Regions from separate parts of the Homo sapiens genome. Here all the other regions are linked to region 4. Evidence: promoter capture Hi-C in human tissues and cell types (Jung and others, 2019). All regions are on one chromosome and are shown on one strand. The core of a region is centred on a gene start or on the middle of the fragment in contact, and the rest is flanking DNA. Distances in the headings are between cores, read along the strand shown. Region 1 overlaps SLBP (stem-loop histone mRNA binding protein). Region 2 holds the start of SH3BP2 (SH3 domain binding protein 2). Region 3 holds the start of TNIP2 (TNFAIP3 interacting protein 2). Region 4 holds the start of HAUS3 (HAUS augmin like complex subunit 3).

Region 1 (2,700 bases), core at 177-2,676, 540 kb after region 4:
TTTTTTAAGGCTGCCAAGTTTTAGGGAATGTAAATTTTTGTTGTGTGGATCTCACTACTTAAACTGAACCTGACAAAGATTTCTTTTGGCCCACGGAGCTTCTGGATTGCATAGGATGGTGTGCCTGCGGGCATCAGGGTGGAGCTTCCTCAGACCTGGCTGCTTTATTTTTATATCTTTTTTAAAAACAGCAATATTTATTTTGCCCTCAGATATAAAAGGAAACTCCTCATCAATGACTTTGGAAGAGAGAGAAAATCATCATCAGGAAGGTAAAGGCTGTGTAAATGTTTCTTTTCTAATTTGATAGACCTGTAATTTGTTAAAAAAAAAAAATTGTGACTGTCAGAAATGCTGACTGTCGCAGTAGCATTTATTAATACCTTTTTCACTAATTTGAAATACTGTATCTGTTGTGTACTAAATTCCCATACATGCAGTCTCCGGACTATTTAGGATTCATATGGTTGGGAATCTGGAGTGAATCTTCCATTATTGTGTTTTGACATTTTCTTGGCTTACCTTACATACATGGTGATCTTAATTGCAGGGCTTATTCTGTTAATCTGTTGTTTTTTCAGTTCTGATTCAAAGGAGTCTATGTCTACTGTGCCGGCTGACTTTGAGACAGATGAAAGTGTCCTAATGAGGAGACAGAAGCAGATCAACTATGGGAAGAACACAATTGCCTACGATCGTTATATTAAAGAAGTCCCAAGGTAGTCTTGTTTCAGTGGCATGTCTTGAACAAGCTGTGTGGCATTGCGTTTCTAAAGAGTTGCTTAGATTGGGTAGTACAAATGATGCTGGGGATAGTTCACACCTGCTAAGAGCTATTTAATAGGGACTTACTGGGGCTTATGACGTAAATAAAGAATGGATTGGCAACTGGAAAACTAAAGACATGAAGATTTTAAAAATCATTTTCATATAATTTTGAATGTTAGATAACATTTTATTTCTTAGGAGTCAGCAATCATAGATGTAAGCTTATTAAAATACATGATGGGGAAAAATGAAGTTCAAGTTAAATATTGTAAAATTCTAATTGGAGAAAAAAAAATTGGCATTGCCCTATTGTCTTTAAGCAGCATGTTCTTGCCTATCCTGGTCCCTCAAACACACAGACACAGAAGGATATAAAGAAAGCTTTAGTGTTTTCCTGAACTTTTTGGCAGGATTGGGGTTGAAATTTACATTTCTGGGCCAGGTGCAATGGCTCATGCTTGTAATTCCAGCACTTTGGGAGGCCGAGAGGACTGCTTGAGGCCAGGAGACTAGCCTGGGCAATATAAGGAGACCTCATCTCTACAAAAAATTTAAAAATTAGCCAGGTGTGGTGGTTTGCACCTGTAGTCCCAGCTACTTGGGAGACAGGTGGGAGAACTGCTTCAGCCCAGGAATTCAACGTTACAGTGAACCATTAATCACACCACTGCACTCCAGCCTGGGCTGCAGAGTATGAGACTTTGTCTCTTAAAAAAAAAAATTTTACTTTTGGCTGAGTGCAGTGGCTCATGCCTGTAATCCCAGCACTTTGGGAGGCCGAGGAGTGCGGATCATGAGGTCAGGAGATCGAGACCACCCTGGCTAACACGGTGGAACCCCGTCTCTACTAAAAATACAAGAAATTTGCTGGGCGTGGTGGCACACATTTGTAGTCCCAGCTACTCGGGAGGCTGAGGCAGGAGAATCACTTGAACCTGGGAGGAGGAGGTTGCAGTGAGCCGAGATTGCACCACTGCACTCCAGCCTGGGTCACAGAGCAAGACTCCATCTCAAAAAAAACAATTTTTTTTTTTTTTTTTTACTTTTTTGGAACATAGCTGGCAAAGGAATAGTAAGATTCAATGTGATGGTGCTTTTTTTTTTCCCTCCTGACCGAGTCTTGCTGTTACCTAGGCTGAAGTGCAGTGTTATATCATGTCTCACTGTGTATTCATTTTTTTGAGACGGAATCTTGCTCTGTTGCCCAGGCTGGAGTGCAGTGGCGCAATTTCAACTCCACCTCTCGGGTTCAAGCGATTCTCCTGCCTCAGCCTCCACAGGCGCCTGCCACCACACTTGGTTAATTTTCGTATTTTCAGTAGAGATGGGGTTTTACCATATTGGCCAGGCTGGTCTCGCACTGCTGATCTCGTGATCCGTCTGTCTCTGCCTCCCACAGTGCTGGGATTACAGGGGTGAGCCACCACGCCCAACCATCATGGCTCACTGTAGTCTTAACTCCTGGCCTCAAGCAATCCTCCTACCTCAACCTCCTGAGTAGCTGGGACCAGCGGTGCATGCCGCCACACCTGGCTAAACTTTTAAATTTTTATAGAGATGGGAGTCTCCCTATGTCGCCCAGGCTGGTCTTGAACTCCTGGCCTCAAGTAGTCCTCCCAAAGTACTGTGATTACAAGCGTGAGCCACTGTGCCCAGCGGATAGTGATTTTTTTGAGACCGAGTTTCACTCTAGTCCAGGCTGGAGTACAATGGTGCAATCTTGGCTCACCGCAACCTCCGCCTCCCAGGTTCAAGCGATTCTCCTGCCTCAGCCTCCCAAGTAGCTGGAATTACAGGCATGCGCCACCATGCCTGGGCTAATTTTTTTGTATTTTTAGTACAGATGGTGTTTCTCCATGTTGGTCAGGCTGGTCTCGAACTCCTGACTTTGGGTGATCTGCCTGCCTCGGCCTCCCAAAGTGCTGGGATTAC
Region 2 (2,700 bases), core at 43-2,542, 550 kb before region 4:
CAGAGTGGGAAGAACCAGGAGGGGGTGGAGCCCAGCCCCTCCTCTGGTCCCACAGGGCCTGAGCCAGTGAGGGCAGGAGCTTGTCCAGGCTCATGGAGTTGGTGCAGGGCTGACCTGAACCCAGAGGCTTGCTTCGGCAAGGAGGAGGCTGTGGGCCCTGCCTTCAGGCGGTTGTGGAAACAATTCTACACATTGCATCACCGGCCCATGTCACCTGCAAGGCCACACACATGTCATCCAGGCAGGCTGTCCACCCCAGCAGCCCACACGGAGTACCCGCCCCTGGCCACAGCCAATTCGAAGGACTTAAGTGTGGCCACTAGACCAGGAGGCACAGCTGTCCCCAGTGTCAACAGATGAGCAAACTGAGGCACAGAGAGGGGATAGGAGGTGCTCACGGAAAGGAGCACCAGCAGAAGGCTCCCCACAGCAGGGCTCAGGCCCTCAATACCCCCAGGGAGCCGAGGCCCAGAGCAGCGGGAAAGTGCTGGGCTGCAGGGAGGCCAGCGTACAGGTGGAAGGGGCTGTCCCCGCCCCCTAACTCCTCCAGTCCCTCTGCCACCCCTGAGATTCCCTGTTGCCCATGAGAGTCTCAGACGCCCGGCTATCAGTCACTCACACTTCAGTGTGAATCAGCGCCAGTGGGCGGCTTTTCTTGCCCTCCGTGAAGCGCGGCCGCTGCAGAGGGAAGTTTGGATTCCGGGAAGGGCGGAGAGCGAGTGCCCGCCGCAGCCTTTGAGTCTTGTGGGGAGGGTCGCGTAAAGGGGCCCCGCCGCGGGGCCAGAGGGGCGCGAGGGGTGCGAAACAGACGCGTCGCACCGCCTCCCACCCCTGAGCCCCCGGCAAGGGACACCCGGCCCCCGCCCCGAAGCCGCGCTCCCTCGGGCACTGCCCGCCGTGCCCAGGCCCCGTGCGTCCTTTGGCAAGGACACGGAGGCCCCGGGGCCCGGGGGAGGCTGCTGCGCACCCGAGACCCCCGACACCCGCCCATACCTGCCGGGACCCTGAGACTCCCCCGAGACCTGCCAAGACCTGCCGGGACCCCTGAGACTCCCCGGAGACTCCCCCGAGACCCCCGAGACCCGCCGAGACCTGTCGGGACCCCGAGACTCCCCCGAGACCCCCGAGACCCGCCGAGAGCCCCCAGACCGCCAAGGCCCGCCGAGCCCCTTCCAGACGCGGAGACCGCCCCCCCGCGAGACCCCCGAGACCCGCCGAGACCCGCCGCCGAGGCTTACCCGCCGAGCGCTCTCCTGGCCCGCGGGCCCTGGGTCGAGGCGGCGGCTTGACTCGGCCGCCAGGCGCTCCCGCCCGCGGGACCCGCCGCCGCCGCAGCTCCGTCCCGCCCGCGCCCGCCCAGTCCGCCCTCCTCCTGGCCCCGCCCCGGCCCCGCCCCTCCCCGGCGGGTCCCGCAATCCTGGAGGTCCGAGCTGGGCGTGGGGCGGGGCCGGTACCTCAGGGTGGGCGGGGAACTGCACGTGGCCTCCGCGGCCCCGGGACGAGGCCCCTGGGGGGCGAAGACTGGCGTTGTCGCGGGCCTAGACGCCGGGTCCACAGTAGGTGCTTAGTTCTCGCCCGTGAGTGAGGTAGCGTGTCTGTCCCTCCTGCGTGTCCCTCCCAGTGACACCCCAGTGCCCAGCGACCCAGGTGGAAAGGGCGCTGTCCACCCCCCCAGCCCCGTGGTCCTGATCCTGGGCGGCCCCACCCCTGCCCCGTGAGTGCGACTTAGGCCCTGGCCAAGACAGGAGCAGGGGAGGTGGGGGAGGGCTTGCTGGGCACCAGGAAACCTTGTCTTTGTTTCCAAATGTCCTCCAGGGTACTTTTCAGGCACTTCCCAGGGGGACCTCGCCTCTTGGACCAGGTCTGGACTCCGGTGGCCCAGAGGTCGTCTTGGGGCTGGGAGGCACAGGAGACCGGGTGCTTTACACTTGGCCTCCTCTGAGGCTCCCTTTCCTCCACCATCACCCTCTCCCTAAGAGTAGGCCCAGATGCCTTGGTGTAAGGGCAGGGGCGAGAAGAGGAGGGGCTTCCTGGGAGGAAATGGCTTCCCTGGGGAGCTCTCAGGGCCAGGTAGGTGGAGGGAGCCGTGGAGAAAGTGAAGAGGCTGGGGAGACCAAGCTGGGCCTGCAGAGCTTGAGGGCGAGCGGACCCCCCACCAGTGCGGGAGTCAACTGCTTGGGGCGTGGGGGGACTCCTCCCCATGAGGAGTGGGGACTGGACCCCAGGTCCCAGAGCCCAGGAAGCTGTGAGTAGAGGAAGGACAGGATCTTGCTGGGAACCCAAGGGAGCTGGGGGTGGGTGGTGGTGACCTGGCCCTGTCCAGGCAGGCGGCCAAGGTCTGACCCTCTGTACTGAGCACAAGAGGCCAGAGTCCAATGACAGGGGCTGAATTGGCTGCTCCAAATCAGGCAGGGGCAGGGGTGTCCAGGGCTGGCCCTGCAGCAGGTGAAGGACTGGGTTTGGGTCCTACAGGTTGAAATACCTGAGGGCCTCCAGGAGACACAGCCAAACCAAGCGGGTTCTCAGGGTTGCAGCTGGACCGAGTGTGGGCCAAGTCACCGTCCACCTGTCCCAGAGCTGCCCAATAATGGGTCCCAAGCCTCAGAAAGGGGATCCCTGGCTGCAATAGCCCTCCTCCCTGCTGGAGAGACACACTTGGGATCAGAGAGGTTAACTGGGGAGGGGAGTAAGTGGGAGGAG
Region 3 (2,700 bases), core at 30-2,529, 510 kb before region 4:
TGGGTGGCTCTGGCTTTGCTTATAGGCTTGTCTGATTCTACAAGCTTGTGTTTTCCCAGGCTCAGCTCAGGCTTGGCTGTGGATCACATAAGGGAAGAAAGTCAAGAAGCTGCTCAGGGGCGGAGCCTGTGGGCAAGTGCACACACAGGGAAGACCCCTGCCCTATCCTGAGTAGGGAACCTTGGAAAGACCCCATGTGTGCTTGGGCATCATTGTGGGGAAGACTGGGCTGTGGAAAAACACTAGCGTTTGTCTGGGAATTTTGGGGAAGGAAAGGGATGGAAAAGCGAAAGGGTGGGAAGGGGCTGGTTTCCTGCTGCTTCTGCTATATAAGAACAGCATCTAGCAGGAAGGTTGTCCCGTGGGCCCATACTAGCCACCTTACAAAGCAGCGTCTGCAGTGGCTGACGCCTGTAATCCCAGCACTTTGGGAGGCTGAGGCCGGTGGATCTACCTGAGGTCAGGAGTTCAAGACCAGCCTGGCCAACATGGTGAAACACCATCTCTACTAATAATACCAAAAAATTAGCAGGGCATGGTGGCGGGCGCCTGTAATCCCAGCTACTCAGGAGGCTGAGGCAGGAGAATCGCTTGAAACTGGGAGGCGGAGGTTGTAGTGAGCCGAGATCGCGCCATTACACTCCAGCCTGGGCAACAGAGCGAAACTCCGTCTCAAAAAGAAGAAAAAAAAGGAAAGAAAAAAGAAAGCGGCGTGCGGGGCAGGGGGTTGGAGCTCTTTCTGGGCTCAGTGTCCCCAGGTGACGGAACACATGCCACGTGCTTGGTGCGCTGCGAGCTCAGCTCCTGGAGCTTCTGTTGCTGCTGTGGCCGCAAGGCCTGGACCCTCGCGGGGAGATTCAGACCCACACTTAGCTCCAGAGCTTGGGGGTTGTCGTTAAGCCCTTCCTTTCCATCAGAGGCTGATGAATCCCCAAACTCCTGGGCTGAGTTCGACTCTCCGACAACTCCTCAGAGGCGGATGTTTGGGGCCACTGGAATAAGCCCAGCACCAGCTGGGGTGTGGACAGCCTCGGGGGCCAGGCCAACTCTCCCGGACGGGTGCGGACGGCAGGGGCGGGGCCGGGCTGTAGGCGGTGGGAGGGGTGGGGCCGGGCGAGAAGGGGCTGGGCGGGCTGCCGTCGGGCGGGGCTGCGCGGGGAAGGGCGGGGCTGCGCGGGGGGCGGGGCTGCGTGGGGGAGGGCGGGGCCGGGCTGTTGTGGGTGGGCGGGGCGCACCGGGGAAAGTTCCGGGAAGGGCGGCAGCCGGCGGGGCCCGGGCGCGGAAGTTGCCGGCGGCCGCGCGGCCTCCCGGGCGGGCCTACAGCCATGTCCCGGGACCCGGGGTCGGGCGGCTGGGAGGAGGCCCCGCGCGCAGCTGCCGCGCTCTGCACCCTGTACCACGAGGCCGGACAGCGGCTGCGCCGCCTGCAGGACCAGCTCGCTGCCCGCGACGCCCTCATCGCTCGCCTCCGCGCCCGCCTGGCCGCGCTGGAGGGGGACGCCGCGCCGTCCCTAGTGGACGCGCTGCTGGAGCAGGTTGCGCGCTTCCGGGAGCAGCTGCGAAGGCAGGAGGGCGGCGCCGCCGAGGCCCAGATGCGCCAGGTACGAGGGCGGGTACCAGAGGAGCTGCGGGAGCGAGAGTGCGTGTGGCGGCCGCCGGGTCCTGGGTGGGTGAGCGAGCGGGCCCCGGGTCCTGAGGGGTTGAGGGGGTACTGGGTCCTGGGGTTGAGTTGGCCTCGGGTCCTGAGGGGTTGGGGGAGCACCAGGTCCTGGGAGTTGAGGGGGTGCCGGGTCCTGGGGGTGAGGGGGCCCCGGCTCCTGAGGGGTTGGGGGAGCATCAGGTCCTGGGGGTTGAGGGGGTGCCGGGTCCTGGGGTTGAGGGACACTAGGTCCTGGGGGTAAGGGGCCGTCGGGTCCTGGGGGTGATAGGGCAACAGCTTCTGGGGGGTGAGGGGACCCTGGGTCCTAGGGGAGAGAGGGGGACCAGGTCCTGAGTGGGATAAGGGGACACCACGGGCTGAGGTGTGCTGGGTCCTGGGGGGTTTGAGGCGTCACCAGGTGCTGGTGGAGGTGAGGGGGCTCTGGGTCCTGCGGGGTGAGGGTGCAAGGTTCTGAAGGGGATAAGCGAATGCTGGATCCTGGGGGGTTGGGAGGGCACTGGGTCCTGGGGGATGGTGAGGAGGCACTGGGTTCTGAGGAGGGGGGTTGGTGCAGTTCTTGGGTTCTGTGTGTGTGTGGTGTATGTTCAGGTGGGCTCTTAGGGGTATTTTGAGGTTCGTGTGTGGGAACACATTCCGAGGGGGGTGTGTGTATGCTGTGTGTATTCTGTGTGTATTGTGTAGTGTGTATGTTCCGGTTGGTTCTTAGGGGTGTTTTGAGGTGTGTGTGCGGGAGACACATTCTGAGGGGTGTGTATGGTGTGTGTGTGTACGCACACATGTGTGTCTTGGGTCCAAGGTCGTGTACTCATATTGTGTTCTAGAGTCCCTTCCAGCCCTCACCCATGCATGTGTCTTTCACTAGTGGCGCTTCAACTCTATGCTGGGAGCAATGGCAAATGCAGCCCGTGTCTGATAAAGGACACAAATCCTAGGCTGGGTGCAGTGGCTCACGCCTGTAATCCCAGTACTTTCGGAGGCAAGGCGGGCAGATTGCCTGAGCCCAGGAGTTCGAGACAAGGCTGAGCAACATGGTGAAACCC
Region 4 (2,700 bases), core at 110-2,609:
ACGACTTCTACCTAGTCACCCTGGACTAGGACATTGTCTAACAAGCCACCTTTAGGGTCATTTGACGCTGAAGGGAGGGAGTACTATTATATTTACCCATGACCAAAGCCCCTGCTAACCTGTGGAAGACTGAGGAGTGGCAAAGGATTTTTGTTTGGTAGAGATGCAAACGAATTCTGTCCAATAGAGAGGTCTGGTTTCACTGGGCTGTAGGGCATCAGCCAGATTCACATGAAATTTAGCAATCCCGTTTCAGTCATCTTTCACTGACTGCCATCCTCTTTGGAAATGGTGTACCATCCTCCTTGAGTTAAATATATCGATGTATTTAACTCAGGCCATTCCGTTTATTTCTAACATTTTGAAAAGGGAATTGTGGAGGAAGTCAGCTTTTTTTTTTTTTTTTTTTTTGAGACGGAGTCTTGCTCTGTCGCCCAGGCTAGAGTGCAGTGGCGTGATCTCGGCTCACTGCAACCTCCACCTCCTGGGTTCAAACGATTCTCCTGCCTCAGCCTCCCGAGTCGCTGGGATTACAGGCGCCCACCACCGCGCCCGGCTAATTTTTGTATTTTTTAGTAGAGATGGGGTTTCACCATCTTGGCCAGGCTGGTCTCGAACTCCTGACCTCATGATCCCCCCCCCCCCCCCCCCCGGCCTCCCAAAGTGCTGGGATTACAGGCATGAGCCACCGCGCCCGGCCAGAAGTCAGCTTTTACATAGTGTTCTGGTGAGGGATTAGAAATTAAGTGTTTTTGCAAAATAAAGTTCATTGTAAAAGACTCTAAGCGAACAATCCCTAACCCTTAAAATGTACCAGGCATTGGTCGGGCTGCTGTGAATGTTCCGGGAACTCGTCTCTCTCGGGGGCGAGCGCTATCACCGCCGGGCTCCAGCCTGTCTCCCAACCACCAACCTGCGCTGCTCTTTGTACCATTCAAAAGTGCCTTCAGAGGGTCTAGATTGAAGTACGGGGCAGGGCAGGCCTGAAGCACAACTGACGGCTCCGTTGAGAGCAGGCCCGCAGCTTCAGCTCCCCAGAGGGCGCCCCACCGCACCCCTCTGCACCCCTCTGCACCCCATTCATTGCCCAGGCTCCGCCCCCTGCCCAGGCCCCGCCCCTGTCCAGGCCCTGTCCCCGCCCTTCCCGGCCCAGACCCCGCCTCTCTCTGCCCTGCGCCCCGCCCAGGAGGCAGGATGCCCGCAGCGGCCGGGGGCCGAGCGCCGCCTGCTCAGCTCCACCCCATAGTCCAGCCTCGCCGACTCCGCCTCTTTTGACACTACGCCTGCGCAAACAGTCATCCCCCACGACCACGCCGTCGCCTTGTGCGCTTGCGCGCGTCCAGGCGCTCCCGTGAGGCAGTGCGAGGCGCGCGGGGCACGGAGGGCGGTGGCGGCGGGCTCCTGCGAGAAGCAAGCGGAACTTCCTGAGGTGACTGACGCGGGCCTCGGTTCTGGGCGCAGGGGTGTGGGGCTGGAGGAGTGGCCGCGATCCCCGTCTGCACCCAGGTGCCTCTTTTTTTTCCTGCGCTCCTGGGGGCTCCTTCCAGGTGCTCCAGCAGCTGCCCGGGGATCAGGGCCCGGTCCGCTGGGCGAGGAGCTGGGGCGGGGGCTGTGCGGGGCCTGTCACCCCCGTCTTCTGCAGCTCGGTGTCGACGGCGATTCGGTGGGCTTGTGCGTTTGTTTTGTCAGCGTGCTTAGGTGTCACAGCTGGGTGACCCTCCGAAGGAAGGTTTTGCCGCTGGCGCGTCTGGTGTATCGCGGCCTTGGGGCCGCGGATCCCTGGGGCTTGCCGCTGCCTCTGGGGTTCGCGCGGCCCTGGCGTCGGGGCTGCCTCAGCGCTGGCTGAAGGCCGGCCCGAAGCACCCTTAATTGTGGCCGCGCGCTTCCCTGCTGCTCCTGCTGTTCTCCGCGTCGCGGTGGTGGACTCTGGAGGTGGAGCCTTGCCCGGCGAGACGTTGAGGTAAATATTTAGTTGATCTTCAGAAGATGTGCCATGCTTATTTGCGTCTTCTTACGTACGGAGGGCAGGGAAGAGAGGCTGCCTAGCCTCCTGGTGGCTTGGGTTTGTTTGGATCCATTTATTTTGAATTAAAAACAAATGCTGCTCTATAAAGTGTAATGCATTTTAAACCATTTTATCTTTGGAAAAAAAGATAAAATGGATCCAAATAGATCCACTTTCTTGTTAATTACTTTTCGTTACTGTTGCGGTTTTCTGAGAACTAGCCTAATTGTTTCTGTTTCTCTTTATCATCATCAAACATTGCAGCTACGACTACCTGTCATTTATCCCGCTCTCGGATATCATGTGATATTTGTCTGTGTCTTCTTTTTAAAAACACTGTCGTCATATTTGTGGTCTAATACTTGTTTTCTTCCCCCCTAGGAGGAATCATTATAGATTCTAAAAATATATTTTCCCTTCTCTGTGGACTTGGTATAAAACGTAGCTTTTTTTCTGCTTGGATTTATTTTCTAAAAATCAACACCGTAAACCCATATCAGATACAACAAAATTGGGGTAGTTAAAACCATGAGTTGTGGAAATGAGTTTGTGGAAACATTAAAAAAAATTGGTTATCCCAAAGCTGATAATCTTAATGGAGAAGACTTTGACTGGTTGTTTGAGGGCGTTGAAGATGAATCGTTTCTGAAGTGGTTTTGTGGGAATGTGAATGAACAGAACGTGTTGTCTGAAAG

What was found. The method cuts DNA at HindIII sites, captures the fragments that hold promoters and counts their contacts. A contact is called where the count stands out against the background at its distance.
Region 1: a contact is called between a fragment that was not itself captured here and the fragment with the promoter of HAUS3 in region 4, in 1 of the 25 tissues and cell types used here (hippocampus).
Region 2: a contact is called between the fragment with the promoter of SH3BP2 here and the fragment with the promoter of HAUS3 in region 4, in 3 of the 25 tissues and cell types used here (dorsolateral prefrontal cortex, heart left ventricle and lymphoblastoid cells).
Region 3: the fragment with the promoter of TNIP2 here is called in contact with the fragment with the promoter of HAUS3 in region 4 in 5 of the 25 tissues and cell types used here (IMR-90 fibroblasts, liver, lymphoblastoid cells and 2 more).

The regions. Positions count from the first base shown.
Region 1 is chr4:1,697,583-1,700,282 of GRCh38, reverse strand. SLBP (stem-loop histone mRNA binding protein) reads left to right here. Exons shown (of 8, transcript NM_006527.4): 4 at 213-272; 5 at 582-719. Among named protein-coding and RNA genes, the nearest start is that of SLBP, 13 kb to the left of the region's middle. The HindIII fragment of the contact is 4,940 bases long and covers 1-2,700 here.
Region 2 is chr4:2,791,677-2,794,376 of GRCh38, reverse strand. SH3BP2 (SH3 domain binding protein 2) reads right to left here and starts at 1,292. Exons shown (of 13, transcript NM_001122681.2): 1 at 1,239-1,292. RefSeq lists a silencer at 1,225-1,574. The HindIII fragment of the contact is 44,064 bases long and covers 1-2,700 here.
Region 3 is chr4:2,754,915-2,757,614 of GRCh38, reverse strand. It overlaps TNIP2 (TNFAIP3 interacting protein 2), which reads left to right and starts at 1,279. Exons shown (of 6, transcript NM_024309.4): 1 at 1,279-1,601. The coding sequence starts at 1,326. RefSeq lists silencers at 817-956, 1,137-1,656, 1,677-1,736. The HindIII fragment of the contact is 11,459 bases long and covers 1-2,700 here.
Region 4 is chr4:2,240,780-2,243,479 of GRCh38, reverse strand. It overlaps HAUS3 (HAUS augmin like complex subunit 3), which reads left to right and starts at 1,359. Exons shown (of 6, transcript NM_001303143.2): 1 at 1,359-1,429; 2 at 1,690-1,960; 3 at 2,387-2,700. The coding sequence starts at 2,534. POLN (DNA polymerase nu) reads left to right here and starts at 1,359. Exons shown (of 26, transcript NM_181808.4): 1 at 1,359-1,429; 2 at 1,690-1,960. It also overlaps the pseudogene COX6B1P5. RefSeq lists a silencer at 929-1,288 and enhancers at 1,969-2,068, 1,675-2,176. The HindIII fragment of the contact is 17,295 bases long and covers 1-2,700 here.